6 separate regions of the Homo sapiens genome follow, and all the other regions are linked to region 2. The links are contacts of gene promoters, found by promoter capture Hi-C in blood cells and fetal thymus (Javierre and others, 2016). All regions are on one chromosome and are shown on one strand. Each heading gives the region's core, a stretch centred on a gene start or on the middle of the fragment in contact. The rest is flanking DNA. Distances are from core to core; before and after follow the strand shown.

The links. The method cuts DNA at HindIII sites, captures the fragments that hold promoters and counts their contacts. A CHiCAGO score of 5 or more calls a contact.
Region 1: a contact is called between a fragment that was not itself captured here and the fragment with the promoter of HINT1 in region 2, in 1 of 17 cell types (monocytes). The highest score is 5.2, in monocytes.
Region 3: a fragment that was not itself captured here is called in contact with the fragment with the promoter of HINT1 in region 2 in 1 of 17 cell types (naive CD8 T cells); the score reaches 5.3 in naive CD8 T cells.
Region 4: a contact is called between a fragment that was not itself captured here and the fragment with the promoter of HINT1 in region 2, in 1 of 17 cell types (activated CD4 T cells). The highest score is 5.9, in activated CD4 T cells.
Region 5: a fragment that was not itself captured here is called in contact with the fragment with the promoter of HINT1 in region 2 in 2 of 17 cell types (monocytes and total B cells); the score reaches 5.9 in monocytes.
Region 6: a contact is called between a fragment that was not itself captured here and the fragment with the promoter of HINT1 in region 2, in 3 of 17 cell types (non-activated CD4 T cells, activated CD4 T cells and total CD8 T cells). The highest score is 7.8, in non-activated CD4 T cells.

What each region holds. Positions count from the first base shown.
Region 1 is chr5:130,767,625-130,770,324 of GRCh38, forward strand. No RefSeq gene overlaps it. Among named protein-coding and RNA genes, the nearest start is that of HINT1, 400 kb to the right of the region's middle. The HindIII fragment of the contact is 3,664 bases long and covers 1-2,700 here.
Region 2 is chr5:131,163,857-131,166,556 of GRCh38, forward strand. It overlaps HINT1 (histidine triad nucleotide binding protein 1), which reads right to left and starts at 1,400. Exons shown (of 3, transcript NM_005340.7): 1 at 1,239-1,400. The coding sequence starts at 1,349. RefSeq lists enhancers at 129-789, 790-1,449, 1,720-1,769 and silencers at 580-1,219, 1,430-1,509, 1,520-1,569. The HindIII fragment of the contact is 11,885 bases long and covers 1-2,700 here.
Region 3 is chr5:131,473,986-131,476,685 of GRCh38, forward strand. The region is part of intron 16 of RAPGEF6 (Rap guanine nucleotide exchange factor 6); the gene reads right to left. Among named protein-coding and RNA genes, the nearest start is that of RAPGEF6, 160 kb to the right of the region's middle. The HindIII fragment of the contact is 2,890 bases long and covers 1-2,700 here.
Region 4 is chr5:131,557,489-131,560,188 of GRCh38, forward strand. The region is part of intron 5 of RAPGEF6 (Rap guanine nucleotide exchange factor 6); the gene reads right to left. Among named protein-coding and RNA genes, the nearest start is that of RAPGEF6, 76 kb to the right of the region's middle. The HindIII fragment of the contact is 1,170 bases long and covers 786-1,955 here.
Region 5 is chr5:131,534,206-131,536,905 of GRCh38, forward strand. The region is part of intron 6 of RAPGEF6 (Rap guanine nucleotide exchange factor 6); the gene reads right to left. Among named protein-coding and RNA genes, the nearest start is that of RAPGEF6, 100 kb to the right of the region's middle. RefSeq lists a silencer at 2,291-2,585 and an enhancer at 2,341-2,570. The HindIII fragment of the contact is 2,225 bases long and covers 233-2,457 here.
Region 6 is chr5:131,495,887-131,498,586 of GRCh38, forward strand. RAPGEF6 (Rap guanine nucleotide exchange factor 6) reads right to left here. Exons shown (of 28, transcript NM_016340.6): 12 at 2,557-2,700. Among named protein-coding and RNA genes, the nearest start is that of RAPGEF6, 140 kb to the right of the region's middle. The HindIII fragment of the contact is 1,544 bases long and covers 617-2,160 here.

The DNA.
Region 1 (2,700 bases), core at 199-2,698, 400 kb before region 2:
AGGGAATAGTTACAAACTTAATGATACCAGCCATTCTGTCAACAGTTGCCGTGACCTCTCTGCTTAAATTTCATGAAACAGTATACTCTCTCAAACTGAAAAACAATGTGATGTCCTTGTTTTACAGAGAAGTCACAACTCTGTTAAGCAAATTTAACATAGATCAGATAAAGTCATTGATTTATGATTAGAAACACAGATAGGTAATGTTAATTAGATGTGTCTACACTGGAATATTGTAGCCTTTCCATTTAAAAATTATTTTTAAATAAGTTAATTTCTTTTTCAGTGAAATCATTAGTTCACCAAATTTAATTTTTATTGTTTTGATTTTTGGCTACAGTTAACCACAATGTATGGTAGAACACTTATTCAAGTAATATTTCTGAATATCTACCTTGTCCCATTCATATATAAATATAAATACAAGTACTCTATGATTGGGGAGGACTGTGCCTGCTTTCTCTAGCTAAAAGAATTAATATAGGGTGATTCCCTTAGATAAAGGTCAAATCATTTAAGTTAAATTGCTCTGGAGATTTAGATTTAAGTATGCCTGAAATGTGTCATATAAACAGGATTTTGCATATTGTCATGTCACCTTATGTTTTGCAATATTTTCTTTTCACCTTTTGTTTATTAACCAAAACCATTTATGTCCCATTAGAGAGAAAAAAAATTCTGATTTATTCCTAACCTCTTTTATTCACTAAATTATTTCCAGCCAATGCCACATAGCAATGGTTAAACCACAAAGAACTAACAATCAAAATAAATCTACATAGTCAAAAAACAAACAATAATTCATTCACCATGAGAGTTGAGTAGCTTTCAAATGTGAAAAATAAAGCTGCTTCTTAAATTAGGACAGATTGGATTGAACTCTTCTACAAATACACCATTTGTAATATCCTGAAGATTAGTGAATTTTCCCAGTAATCCTCTGCAAATAAAAACAACTAATAGCCAAGAAAGAAGAGATTTTTTTCTATTCCTGTTCTAGGCAATACTGGTCCTCCACAATAATAAGGAAAGAACAGCAAATGAAACAGCAAACAGCTAGAGTTGTTCCAGTTCCCTGCAAAGCTAGCCAGGGGCCCCAGCAAAGTGAGCTTCAGCCATTCTCTAGTCCAAGGCTCTTAGAAGATGCCACTGTGTGGCACAGAGGAAACAATGCAGAAAGGAAACAACTACATGATATATTACTTACAGAGACTTCAAGCAAAATCAGTGGGTCAAGAGAAGGTTAGAACTCTTAAAAATTTATCTTGATTGGCTTTAGGGTACAGTCAACTCTTCTTTATGAAACACAAGTTCTTCCACTCATGGGCTCACCACGTTATTTTTGGCACAAACCTCTCTCAAATTTCTCCCTATATCTTTTCAATGGGAACTGATGGAACTAATTCTGCCTTTCACTACTATTTATATTATTTATAAATAATTTCTCATTTTAAGCTCATTACTATAATATATATCCCACCAGGAGTAGTACATTCTAAGATTCCATCTTTATTGACTTGACTAAACTCCTACTGTGATCTTGGAAGACCTTAATTTCATGATTGCAAGAAAACAAAGAATTCTATCATCCTGACTATATTCATTAATTTCTTGTTCTCTCTTCCTCTCTCTCTGTCTCTCTCACTCTCTGTATAAGTTTTAATTAACCTATATATTTTCTCTTAAATTTAACAACTAACCCTAAGTTCCTTCCCTTAAAAAAAAGTTTAAGCAAGAAAAGGAAAAATATAATTTATTATGTCTCAAGTATATTCTCCATTGATACAACAAATTTCATTAAGAGTGGGTGAGATGCAGTTATAATGGCTATTATCAAAAAAGACAAAAATAACAAATGCTATTGAAGATGCAAAAAGGAACTCACACACTGTTTTTGGGAACGTAAATTAATACAGCCATTATGGCAACCAGTATGGAAGTTTCTCAAAAAACTAAAAATAGAGCTATCATACCATCCAGCAACCCCACTTCTGGGTGTTTATTCCAGGGAAAGGAAATCAGTGTTATCAAAGAGACACCTGTACCTCCATATTTATTGCAGCACTATTCACAACAGCCAAGATATGGAATCAACCTAAGTGTCCATCAATAGATGAATGAATAAAGGACATGTGGTACATATGAGCAATGAAATACTAATTCAGCCATAAAAAGAATGAAATCCTGTCATTTGCTGCAATGTAGATGGAACAGGAGGAAATAAGCCAGGCACAGAAATACAAATATTGCATATTCTCATTATTATGTGGGAGCTTAAAAAAATGTATATCTTGTGGAGGTAGAGGAAGTTGAATGACAGATACCAGAGACTGGGAATGTGAGGGTCAGGAGGTGAAGAAACGTTGGTTAACACGTAAACACACACTTACATGGAAGGAATAAGTGCTAGTGGGGTTTTTTTGGTTTTTTGTTTTTTTGTTTTTTTGAGACGGAGTCTCACTTTGTCACCCAGGCTGGAATGCAGTGGCGCGATCTCAGCTCACTGCAAGCTCTGCCTTCCAAGTTTATGCCATTCTCCTGCCTCAGCCTCCTGAGTATCCAGGACTACAGGCACCCGCCACCACGCCCGGCTAATTTTTTTGTATTTTTAGTAGAGACGGGGTTTCACTGTGTTAGCCAGGATGGTCTCAATCTCCTGACTTGGTGATCTGCCCACCTCGGCCTCCCAAAGTGCTG
Region 2 (2,700 bases), core at 150-2,649:
TCTCAGGAGTAATTCTACTGGGTACTCCCTACAAAATGCTGATTCATTTAGAATGCTTCCTGCCGTTCTACAGTTGGACTTCGGTGGTTCAAATGTAAATTTTTCAAGAACCATTTCTCAAAGGCAACTGCGAACTTTAAAAAGAAATATTTTTTCTAAAACCAAAGAATTTCCCCTGAGTAGAGACAAAGTATTTTTTTTTTTAATTTACCTAGAGGAACCTAATTAAATTTTTGATAACGTTTTGAATCTAACCGACATTAGTAGAATAAATGTTTTTCTTAGATTTTATATTTCCTAAATTTAACAAAACTGTTTACAAAATTTGTTCTATCTAAATCAGCCAATCTGCCCAGCTTTATCTGAGATCCAATCCCAAAAATACAACTGGCCACTAAATAATTTACACAAGATATCTCAAAGTCACATCAACTGGGATTTCACCTACAAGAAGTCAACAAAAACTACAGTCTTAGTCTCTTGGCATAAAATTACTTCCTGTTGAATACAAAAAGAATCATTCAGCTGTTTGTAAGTCCAAAATGTTCAGCGGGAGAGGTCAACGGAAAGCAAATCCCAGACGCGGGCCCACTTCTTATCTCAGGAGATCGCCTCGCTAGCCCAGGGTAGGCCTTGGGGTGGAGATAGGGATAGGGGTAGGGGTGAGGGTGGCAAGCCGCACCCCGCGGAGGAAGCCGGCAGGCCCAGACGGCCCGCGCACCTCCCAGCGCCCCTGGGGCCCTCGAGCACAATGCCTTGCTGAGCAGCGCCCAGGAACGCCGGGCCCTGGCAGGCCGGCTGTGCGCGGGAGATCGCGGAGATTGGGCCTGAGTCAGGGCGCGATCGGGTTTCTCTCTGTCAGGCAGAGCGCTGGCGAGATTTCGAGATTCCTGATACAGGCAAGGTCCGAGGCAGCCGGGGAACCGGCGGGCTTCCACGCGGGGGCCCCAGTGCGCCCCGACACGCGCCCAGGCCCCGCGGTGCGGCACTCAGGGCGCCCGGCGGCCTGGCCCGCGCCCGGGGCAGATAACGAGTAACCGGAGCGCCGGCACGCGCCGGCAGGCCGCCTCGGAGTGCCCGGGCCCTGTCCGCTGGCTGGGGGCCCGCTGGACCAGGGCAGCCAGGTCCCCTCCCGTCGCCGCTACACTCGCGACCCCTCCTCTCCCTCCGCGAGAAACCCGAGGATCCGCGGACGATACCCACCTCAGCAGGCGAGAGAGGTGGTGCCCAGTACCTACCCGGTCATCCTCAAAAATGATTTTGGCTGGTATTTCCTTGCGGATGATCTTCCCAAAGATCGTGTCGCCACCAGGCCGAGCGACCTGAGCCTTGGCAATCTCATCTGCCATCTCGGCCTCTCTCCCGCGCGGCGGCCAGAGGAGAGGCTCGGAAGAAGGGAGGAACCCGCAGAGCGTGCGGCGCGAGAGGGCGCAGCCAAGCCTGCGCAGGTGCCCCGGCTCTGGCGCCCCACCTAATCTTGCGCGTGCGCACTGGCGACCTGGGCTGCGAGTGCGGCCAGCGCGCTAGAGCGCCTCAGGGACCTCCGGCTTGGGGAAGTTCCTGGTCTTGAGCTCCAAGGAGATTCCTAAGTCGTTTTTCTATCCTCCTTTCTTGTCTCCTGGGGAATGCAGTTACTGGTATAAACCCTTCGTCTGCCTATGGATGCTTGTAGGGAAAGTTGGATACTGTAACTGACAAGATTTGATAATTTAAGTGGTGCTGGCTGCAACTTAGCACTTAGATTATTTAAGGTCTTGCTGCTGCAGCAGATTTTAAGTCCTCTCTTCAACAGAGTTTTTTTCTCTCTCTACCAGTGGTTCTCAATCTTGACTACACATTAAGATCACTTGGGGAGCTTTTAAAAATCCCCGTGAACCTGGCTGCAGCCCAGATCCATTAAATAAGAATCTTTGGAGATGAGCCCCAGGCATCAGTAGTTTGTAAACCTCCCTAGACTGCTCTGCAAAGAATTTTTCCCAGCAGCAATCAACATAATGTATTAATAAAATGACCCACTTTAAAAAAAAAAACCTTCCTTAATCCCACATCCCCCTCCGTATCTTTGCTCGTTTTATAAAGAAGTTTTCTACATACCATGTCTGCTTTCTTATCTTTCATTTTTGAGTCCATTTCCCTCTTGTCAAGGTCACTAAGGACATCCATTTATAAAATCCTATAGACAATTACAGTTATCATACCAGACCTCTAAGTGTACGTATTAAGAAAAAGTATACCTCCTCAATGCCTTTTTTTTTTTTAGATAGATTCTTGCTCTGTCGCCCAGGCTCGACTGCAGTGGCACAATCTCGGCTCATTGCAACCTCTGCCTCCCGAGTTCGAGTGATTCTCATGCCTCAGCCTCCCAAGTAGCTAGGACTACAGGCGCGCACCACCACACCTGGCTAATTTTTGTATTTTTAGTAGAGACAGGGTTTCCCCATGCTGGCCAGGCTGTTCTCAAACTTCTGACCTCAGGTGTTCCACCCGCCTCAGCCTCCCAAAGTGCTGGGATTACAGATGTGAGCTCAGCTGCCTTTTATGATTACATTACTACCCTTGTCTTGGCAAAATTATTGAATGTGGTTGCCTTTAATCTCAAAAGTGTCCATTTGGTACTTTTGCTATCAAAGACATTACTGGGACAATTCGTAAAATCTAAATAATGCCTATAAATTAGATAATAGTTTTGAAGTCATGTTA
Region 3 (2,700 bases), core at 171-2,670, 310 kb after region 2:
CTACTAGCTGCTTGACTTCAGGCAAATTTCGTTCTCTTTATAAACTTTGGTTTTCTCATCTGTAAATGTGAGCAACACTATCTCCCCCAGGAATACTGAAAAATCAGGTAATATAGGCGAATGTTGTGGTGTAAAGGAAAACAGGACTTTAATTCTTAAGAATGGACTTACTTTTACAAAAATTAAAATGAGAATAGGGCGGGGCACATTGGCTCACCCCTGCAATCCCAGCACTTTGGGTGGCAGAGGTGGGTGAATCACCTGAGTCAGGAGTTTAAGACCAGCCTGGCCAACATGGCGAAACCCCGTCTCTACTAAAAATACTAAAATTAGCCAGAAGTCGGGTGGCTCGTGCCTGTAATCCCACCTACTCTGGAGGCTGAGGCAGGAGAATCGCTTGAACCCAGGAGGCAGAGGTTGCAGAGAGCAGCCTGGGTGACAGAGCAAGACTCCGTATCAAAACAATAAATAAATAAAAATAAAATGAGAATTGTACAAACACAGAAGGGAGAATTATTTATTTTACTCAGTTTATATTAAAAAGTAGAGGCAGGTCCGAGTAAAGGTACTAGAGAAACAGGAAGTGCTTTCCTGGGGAGAGAAGGCAGTCTAATTTGACAGATAAAGCAAAGGAGATATCTCATTTGATAAATAATTTGCATTTACTCTAAATTGACTCCTTATAATTTGGTTTGTATTCCTAAAGGTTAGAGTTAAATGTTCTAAGGTTAGGTAAGAGAAAATAAGAGGAAAAAGGGCTTTCAAAGGTATTTAAAGTATACAGAAAATAAAGATTTTTTAAAAAAACAGTCTTTCTTTAATTGACTTTTGAAAACAAACACATCAATTTTTGGACACAGAGGGTGCGACAACAATCCAAGGAAGCAAACCATTAAAGAGGTTGTCCAGTCCTACTAATAATTAAGTAGAAGCAACTTTAACAATGTTAAAAAGTTACAATTTTCTATTAAAGGGAATTAACTGCATCAACTGCAGCAAGCTGAATCACTATACAAATTAAGATGTACAGAAAATACGAAAAGTCCTTATATCTCTTGCTGATGCTATTTAACATCGCTTCTGCTTTTGAATGCTCAATAGAGAAAACACTGTATAGCTATAAATATGTAAAGCTGGTTACAAATTCGTAGTAATTAAAGTGTGAGGTGCATAAATGAAAACTATACTGCTATGTACAATCCATGCTATGCCATGAATGAAACAGTATTTAGTTGGCAAAATATCCATGCTTATTTGAAAGCTGAGTTGATAAAGCCCATTTGGCAAGTAATTGTATCATTCTTACCAAAACAGTCTCCTGAGAAGGTGATGCAGTAACAGAAGAAAAATCGTTTAAAAATATTCCTCAATACTTCCCCAACACTAAATTTACTTAGGATAAAAGTACTTGGTTTCATATTATGAAACTAAAAAGGCTACATAAATATCGCCAATATGTAAATAAAATAGAATCCCAATATTTAAAAAGCAAACAAAAATACGTTGACAAGAAATGGGGAGGAAAAATATAATTCCAGTTAAGCAAGCAAGGCAGTTTATTTCTGGGATTGTTACAATGAATAACACAGAGATGTTACTTAGGCAACTGTGATTTTAAAAACAAAATAAAAGCTATGTGATTTTTAAAAAAGAAAAACAGATTTCCTGAAATGTGAAGAATTCTTAGGTCAATAAAAACCATACTTCCGTCTTAACTTACAGATGTAATTCAAACTAGTAACATTTTTCACTTTAATTTTTAGGAACATTCTTTTAAAATTATATCATGGTTTGTTTGGGATTTTGGAATTATCTATTCTTATCTCAAGTATTTGTTCTTTCCTTACATTCTTTCTTTTCTATGACAACTCATCCTCTACTCTTACAGAACTGAGTGCTGCTAAAGGCAGAGAACAAGTTTCTGTTCTTGGTGCCTCTTCCAAAGAGGTCTGGCACACAGGAGATGCTCAGAAATTGTGAAACTGAACTCATTAAACATTTTTTTCAATTAAAAAATAACAAATGTTCAAGAAGAAAACTTGTAAAATACAGAAAGAAAGCAGAGAAGGAAGGGAAAAATTACCTATGAAACTATGCCTTCCAAAAACCACAATCAACATTTTGATATTTTTCCTTCTAGTCATTTTTCTGATGTGTAGTAGAATTTATTTAACCAATCCTTGTAGTTGGACATTTAGGGTGCTCCAACTTTTAGTGTAGATAAAACAACTTGGAGCATCTATATATAAATCTTCATCTAATTACTATTAGAAACAGAACTACTGAATCAAATAATTTTGTCATTTTAAAATATTTATTGGCTAGTGCGGTAGCTCAAACCTGTAATCCCAGCACTCTGTGAGGCTGAGGCGCGTGGATCACCTGAGGTCAGGAGTTCCAAGTCAGGAGTTCCAGACCAGCCTGGCCAACATGGTGAAACCCTGTCGCTACTAAAAATAAAATTTATTTATTTATTTATTTATTATTTTTTTGAGTCGGAGTTTCACTCTGTCACCCAGGCTGCAGTGCAGTGGCACGAGCTTGGCTCGCCACAACCTCCATCTCCCTGGGTTCAAGTGATTCTCCTGCCTCAGCCTCCCGAGTAACTGGGATTACAGGCATGTGCCACCATGCCCAGCTAATTTTTGTAGTTCTCTTGCCTCAGCCTCCCAAGCAGCTGGGATTACAGGTGTACGCCAC
Region 4 (2,700 bases), core at 121-2,620, 390 kb after region 2:
CTACATACAAATCATGTCATCTGTAAATCACAGTTTTATATTTTTTTCCAATCTCTTTTTTCCCCTGCCTAAATGCATCTCCTAGCCAATAGTTTTGGTATGGTGAGCTTTCTCCATATATTCCCAAATGTTGGGAGAAAGTTTTCAATGTTTATTATAGGGTTTCTGCAGGTAACAATTAGGTTATAAAAGTTTCATTCCCTTCCTAGCTTGCTAAAAGCTTTTAAAATCATGAACGGGTTCTGATTATCAAGAGCTTTTTCTGCATCCATAGAAATGATTACCTGATTTTTTTCTTTAATTATATCAATGTAGTGAATCACACATTCAAATGCTAAATCAATTTGTGATTCTGGAACTAAATTCAATGTAGTCATGTTGTTTTATCCTCTGTATGTATTACTGAAATTGGACTACCTAAAATGTTAAGATTTTTACATTTATTTTCATTTAAAAATACTAACCTATAATACTGCTTTTGTATAATGCCCTTGTTAGGCTGTTATAAAAATTAAAATAGGCTCATAAAATAAGGCAAAGAAGTTAAAGTTTTTCTATTTCCTATTAGATGCTAAGTATTATTTCTTCTTTAAATGTTTGGAAAAATTTACCAGTGAAGCCACATGGGTCTGAATTTCTAAATGAAAAGGTTTATAATTACAGATTCACTTTCTTTTCTAGATATTGGCTTGTGCAGATCTTCTGTTTGTGTGTGTATATGCCAGTTTGGTTTTTTTTTTTTTTTTCCAAGGAATTTGACTAAAACTTCAAACTTACTTGCTTTAAGCTTTCCATACCATCTCCCTTATTAGCATTTTAAAAATGTTTGCTAGATCGTAGTAGTGAATCCTTTTTCCTTCCTGATACTGATTGTATGACATGTTTTATTTTTGATTATCTTTGACGGGTTTATCAATTTTCTTAGTCTTTTCTGAGACTCAACCTTGTCCTTTGTCAATCCTCATTATTCTAAGTTTGCTTTTATGCCACTGATATTTATTTTTATATTGATCTTTACTATTTCTTGGCTTGTGATTACTATTCATATGCTGCTCTTTAATTTCCTGACATGAATACTTTACTGTCAGCCTTTGCTCTTATAGCACTAGGGCTTAAATTTCACAACAAGAAAGGCTTACGCTGAATTCTACACATTTTAATAGGTCATATTTATTCATTTAAAATATTTTCTAATTTTCTAAGTAATTCTTCTTTGACAAGCGATTTAGAGCATACGCCTGAATTTCAGAAGTTGTATTTTTTTTTCTAGCTGTGTTTTTATAATTGGTTTTTAAATTAATTTCATGGTGGTCAGAAACTATAAAATTTTAAATACTGAAATTTTGAGACTTGCTTTATGTCCCAGCATGTGGTCAAATTTAAAAAACATTCCATGTGCACTTGAAAAGTAGGCGTACTCTGTTGTTGATAAGTGTAGTGTTCCCTGTTATGTCTCTTAGGTAAAATGTGTACATGATGAGGTTCAAATCCTCAATATCCTTACTGACTCATGGTGGTTGTTTTGTCAGTTACTTTAGAGGTATATTAAAATCTCCTGGCCAGGCAAAGCGGCTCACACCTGTTAATCCCAGCGCTTTGGGAGGCCGAGGCAAGAGGATCACCTCAGGTCAGGAGTTCAAAACCAGCCTGGCCAACATGGCAAAACACTGTCTCTACTAAAAATACAAAAATTAGCTGCACGTGGTGGCGCACACCTGTAATCCCAGCTACCTGGGAGGCTGAGGCAGGAGAATCACTTAAGTCTGGGAGACAGAGGTTGCAGTGAGCTGAGATTATGCCACTGCACCCCAGCCTAGACGAGAGAGCAAAACTCCATCACAAAATGAAAATAAAAATAAAAATAAAAATAAAAATCTCCCACTGTGATTGTGGGTTTGTCTAGTTCTGATTTTACTAAGGACAATTTTTGTTTTATGTATTTTGAAGGCATGTAAAGCTTCAGGATTGTGTAACCTTGATACAATTAACCTTTTATCACTATACAGTACCATTCTTACATTAAATAATGCTTCTTGCCTAAAAGTATACTTTGGGCCAGGCATGGTGGCTCACACCTGTAAGTCCAACACTTGGGAGGTTGAGGTGGGAGGATTGTTTGAGGTCAAGAGTTCGAGATCAGCCTGTGAAACATAGCAAGGCTGTCTCTACAAAAACAATAACAACAACAACAACAACAACAAATTAGCTGGGTATGGTGGGGTGCATCTGTAGTCCCAGCTACTTGAGAGACTGAGGAGAGAGGCTCACTTGAGCCCAGGAGTCCAAGGCTGCGCTGAGCTATCGCACCACCGCACACTCTACTCTCGGTAAGCCCCTTTTCTTTAAGAAAAAAAGAAAAAAAAAAAAGAAAAAAAAAAGTTAAAACAAGGAGATTACTTTACAATGTGTCAGATTAAGATGACTAACTTATCAGGTGATCAAGAATGTGTTCAGTAACAGACACTTCCAATCACCAGTGGAGTTAATCAAATCTGTACAAATAGACAAAACCATTTGACCAGGCATTTTTAACAATTCTGAAAAATTTCACCTATTTTGGATTGTTTTCTCCTATAACTCATAAAGCATTTAAAATTATACCAATCATCAATAAATTTAAATTTTTGAAATTTAAAAATTACCAGCCATAAATACATATACTTGATGTGACTTTTTATTTTATATACTTGTTTTTCTGAA
Region 5 (2,700 bases), core at 95-2,594, 370 kb after region 2:
CTTTTAACAAAGGACTCCACTGACTGCAGAAGAAACATCTTGTTGTTAAGCACAAAAAAAATAAGTTCTTCAATATCTTTGAGAAAAGTCTGAGTCACTTTCTGAACAACACTATGCTGCCAATCTGAATTACACTGCTACTTATAAAACTAGAATTTAAGTTAAACTAAGTATAATTTTGAACAAAGACAAGTTATGCTTTCAAAATATGTAATTATTTAGATTTTCATAAAGCTTTTAAGAATGTTTTTCTGCCAAAATTCCAAAAGACACAATACCAAAATACACAATACCCGCATTTAAATATAAAATTAAATCTCACAAATGCAAACAAGCATGACTAGTTTTCTAAACATAAAACATGCAATATTTATACAGGTTGGTTTTCAAGCACCAATGTGTTTTTTTTTTTTTCAGTTTAATTTAAATCAATCATACGTGAGTTGGAATTCCACTTGATACTTAATATTGTACATTAATTAAAATCTAATGTTAATCATTCTTTAAAACAGAAAAATGATAGTAGGTACTTTGTATGTACATGAAGACAAACTTTCACTTAAGATAAAATTTCTAAAAGATGAGTATTTTACACATAAATATCAGTAGCAAGATTCAAGAATACCAAGAATTTCAACACCAGACAGTAATTATATTCATGTATAGTACCAACAGAATATATTATAGCCGAATCAAAAAGCAAAATTTTAATGCACACCTTTCCCCCTTTTTATAAATCATGCTGATCAACACACAAAGAAGGACCTCAAGCTGGGCAAGGGAGACAGCCATCTCTTAGCTGCTTTAAAAAACTGCTGCCCAGTGTGAGAAATGCAATCCACTAGTGCCATATGTTAGACCTACTGTAGTAAACACCAACTCAGTAAAGGAACAAAATTCTCTTTTCCTTTAGTTTGGCTTGTAAGTGAAGATGACATCATCCTTTTCCTTTTCTACCAATCATCTCATAGTATCTTCGATTCCAGGGAACTGTATAGTGAACCTATCATGCTAAATCTCCCTGTGTAACAATACTAAGAAAAGAAACAGGCCAAATTCCATACTCAACACGGGGATCCACCAGCATTCTGAGGAAATAATGACTTCACCTTTTAACTACTGAATGAAGAAATAAACATCCTTTGAAGAGAATAGTAATTTATCAAATAACTAAAATAAATGACTAGGTGAATAACCTATTTTTCCCTTGCATCACTTTTAGAATTTTATCACGATCTCATCTCATTATCTTATCAATTCAAATGAATTAAGTGCAGCAAAGGAGAATGTCCTGATCTACCTATTGTCTAGGAATCACTACAGGACAGCCACTTATGAACACGTTTCCCCTGCATATGAAATGCCATGATGCTAACCCTTATTAATGAAATCTTTAGCTTTAGAAAGGTCTTTTGCACTACTATAAAATAGAGCAATGTATGTTGACTTTGCAAAGATTCAAATCATGACAAAATACTTTTATAAAAGTGTAAATGCCATGTAGTTATTAAAATTTATGTTAACTGTGTATATTATTTATAAACAAAAATACAAACTGAAATACTTAAAATCATATTGTTTAGAAAGCCAAAGATAAGGTTCTGATAGTTACTAAACTAACTGTAAACACATCTTTTATGTTAATATGTGACAACACTGAAAAGAAGGACAGAGAAAGGTTACCATAGATGAAGGTAAGCCATAAGAGGATAAACATTCTAGGCATTATGAAAAACAAACAAAACTAATGATAACAAAAACTGGATTTATACTAACCCAGGCATTTTATTTACTTATTATATTTTTAAATGGAATTTATTCCCAATCTGCAATGAAATATTATAATCATAATTTAGAGAAGTCAAACGCCAAAGAAGTTAAAGAACAAAAGAAAAATTCTGTAGTTTTACAAAATAAAGAGGATATTCATTTCTGTATTTTAGTTATATTTGGTTTTTGAAATATAAACTTAAATTGTACTGATTTACATAGTGAAAACACTTTAAGTCTTTTGGAAAATAAATGAATAAATGACTGAAATGATCATAGGTAACATACAAGCCCTTTCAAAGGATCATAACAATCTTTTCCACCCGTTTTCCCCCATGTTTAACATGAACATCTGAAATGCATCTTTGCAGTTATCAGACACAGTTAACTCTAATTACTGGTGCCCCTTAGGACTTCTGCTTTCAAACTGCATACCTATTCCTCAGCCTTCATGAAGGAGGGGAGGCAAGAGTACCAACGCTCTTTTATTCTCTTGTAAGAAACAGTGTGCTTCAGCATACTGTCATATATATCCACTAACTGATCACCCCCATTTTTGTTGAAAATCTGTCACAGCCACCAGCTGGACACACATGCACTATGAAATATGATCCACCCTTAGGGAGTAATAGAGGAAGAAAAACCAAGAAGGAGAGAGAAACCGTCATCATCAACCAAGGTGATGTAAGCTTCTATAATTAGAATCAGTGAAATTGAAAGAACAATAAAAGGCACCACTATGCTTCTGCTTTCCGTCTACACTGCGTATCAAGCATCTTCATACCTGCACAAAAGGATACATTTTGTATATAGTTACTCAAGTATATGCAAACCTAAAGTTTCAAACAGCGTATTAATTTTCTTCAAAAAGAGAGTAACATATATAAATGATAAAAAATGAACTCTCATTTAAAACTATCTGTGAATTCC
Region 6 (2,700 bases), core at 139-2,638, 330 kb after region 2:
CAAGCCTGTTTGTTAAGATAAAAGAAGTACACAGAATGTCTATTTCAGGTAGCACCTTAAAATGCAAACTTCATGTCATAAAGCAGGCAATCCTATCAATCAAAAATCCATACCGAAAGCGTTTCCATGGTCAAGAACATGTTTAACCAAAACGGTAACAAAAACAAATCTGAGTCTGGTGCAGTGGCTCACACCTGCAATGCCAGCAACTCAGGTGGCTGAAGCAAGGAGGATCCCTTGAGTCCAGGAGTTTGAGACCAGCCTGGGCATAGCAAAACCCTGTCTCTATAAAAATTAAAAAACAAAACAAAAACCCTTACAAATCTGAAACTTCTTTCATTATAAACACTGTAAATTTTCAAACTGCAGAATCGTTTACTTTGCTTCAGAAAAGTTAAAAATTAACGAATGTAAGCTGATTTGAATAACATGCCTAACAATGTAAGAAATGAGTCATTTTTTTTAAATCGTGGTAGAATCCACATAAAATTCATCATTTTAATGATTTTAAAGTTCATAATTTAGTACCTTAACAATACTGTGTAACCATCACCACTGTCTAGTTCTGAGTTCTGGAACATTTTCATCACTCCAAAAGTAAACCTCAAACTCATTAAGCTTTCACTTCCCATTCTGCCCTCTCTCCAGCCCCTGGCGGCCACTAGTCTGCTTTTCTGTCTATTTGTCTGTTCTGGCTATTCCACATAAATAGAATCATACAATACCTAGCCTTTTGTGATTGGCTTCTTTTACTTAGCTTAATGTTTTCAAGGTTCATCATGGTGTAGTAAGTATTAGTACTTCTTTTCTTCTTATGGCTGAATAATATTTTATTGTACGGCTATACCACATTTTGTTTATCCATGATGGGCATTTGGGTCATTTCTTCCTTTTGGCTATTGTCAATAGTGCTGCTACGAATATTTACGTCAAGTTTTCGTTTGCACACCTGTTTTTAATTCTCTGGGTATTTACCTAGGATTAGAATTGCTGGGCTATATGGTAACCCTATGTTTAACTTTTTGAAGAACTGCTCAAACTGTTTTTTCCACAGAGGTAATACCATTTTACATTCCCACCATCAATGTGTGTAGGGTGGGGGTGGGGAGGAGGGTTCAATGTCTCCATACCGTTGGCAATGTTTGTTACTTTTTCTTTTTTCCCCCTTTTTAAAAGCCATCCTAGTGGGTGTAAAGTGGTATCTCATTGAGGTTATGACTGCATATCTCTATGATTAATGATGCTGAACATCTTTGTCATGTGCCTGTTGGCCATTTACATATCTTCTTTGGAGAAATGTCTATACAAGTCCTTGGTCCATGTTTAAACTGTGCTGTCTTTTCGTTGTTGAGTTGTAAAAGTTCTTTATGTATTTTGGATATTAAACCTTTATCAGATATATAATTTTCTCTTATTCTGTGCATTGTCTTAACTTTCTGGACAGTGTCCTTTGATGCAAAAATAATTTTAATTTTGATGAGGTCCAATTATCTCTTTTTTCTTTTGTTGCTTGTGCTTGGGTATCATATTTTCATATTTGAGAAACCAACGCCAAATCCAAGGCCATGATAATCTACCCCTATCTTTAAGGCATTATAGTTTTAGCTCTTCTGTCTCTGACCCATTTTGGGTACATTTTTGTTTATAGTATAAGGTGGTAATCCATTTTCATTCTTTTGCATATGGATAATTATCACTAAATCATATTCTTGTTCATTTCCAAAGCATGCCTTTATTTTCTTGGCAACCAAGGTAAATATATTTAATTCTAAGAAAAAGGGTGAGAGGTGTGCAAGCCTGTAGTTTTAGATGTTAGTCTCCTAAATAAAAGAATTCTGCAGTTTACCTGCAACTAGTTTATTTCCTTTAAAATATAACTCAAAAAGACACACCAGACAATTATGATCCTACTTTTATTTTCTTGAAACAACTTATTTCTTACCAATTTGTGGAAGTATTACTAGTCTTTCCATTAAATGTGCAAACATATCCCATGAAATAAGCTAATTTATTTAAAATAGTGAACAACATTTAATACAAAAAAATACTCAAAAGGTAGATTTAAATAAGTCACAGGAGAGACATATTAAGGTTTGATAAATTGTTTTCAAATGATTGTGAAGTCTGTAACTCAAGAAAATAAAAATATTCCCATTTTGAAGCTTAAAAGCAATCTGCCCTCTTAAAAAAATGTATTTGATGAATATTCTTTCTAAAATATTAAATCCGTTTTAAAATGTTTTATTGATCTCCAGAAACAATCAAGTATTTCAGTAAAATTCTAAAATACTCTCATGTAACTATTATGTTTCCTGAACCTATAGCTATACCAGAGCTTTATTTCAGTTTTTGCCTTTTAAGGCTCTCGTCCACTTTTAGCATGCTATTCTGTCATAAAAGTAAGCAGAGAATGTTTATACTGATGGTTCAGGTTCATTAATTTTTTTAGGTGTACTGAATCTTATTATCATAATAAACAGGTAATCTATCAACTATAAAAGTTTCATGAATAAAATTTTGGGTTAAAATCACTTTCATGCCCCTTATAAAACCAACCTTATCTCTTAAGCTGTCGATCTTAAACCATTCCAATAGTTTGATCCCAACATCCAAAGGACTTTCAAGAAATGTCCTGTAAGTTAATAGAAAATCTTCTATATAAGTTGGATCCACGATGGAATGTTCTTCTATTAAATGCAT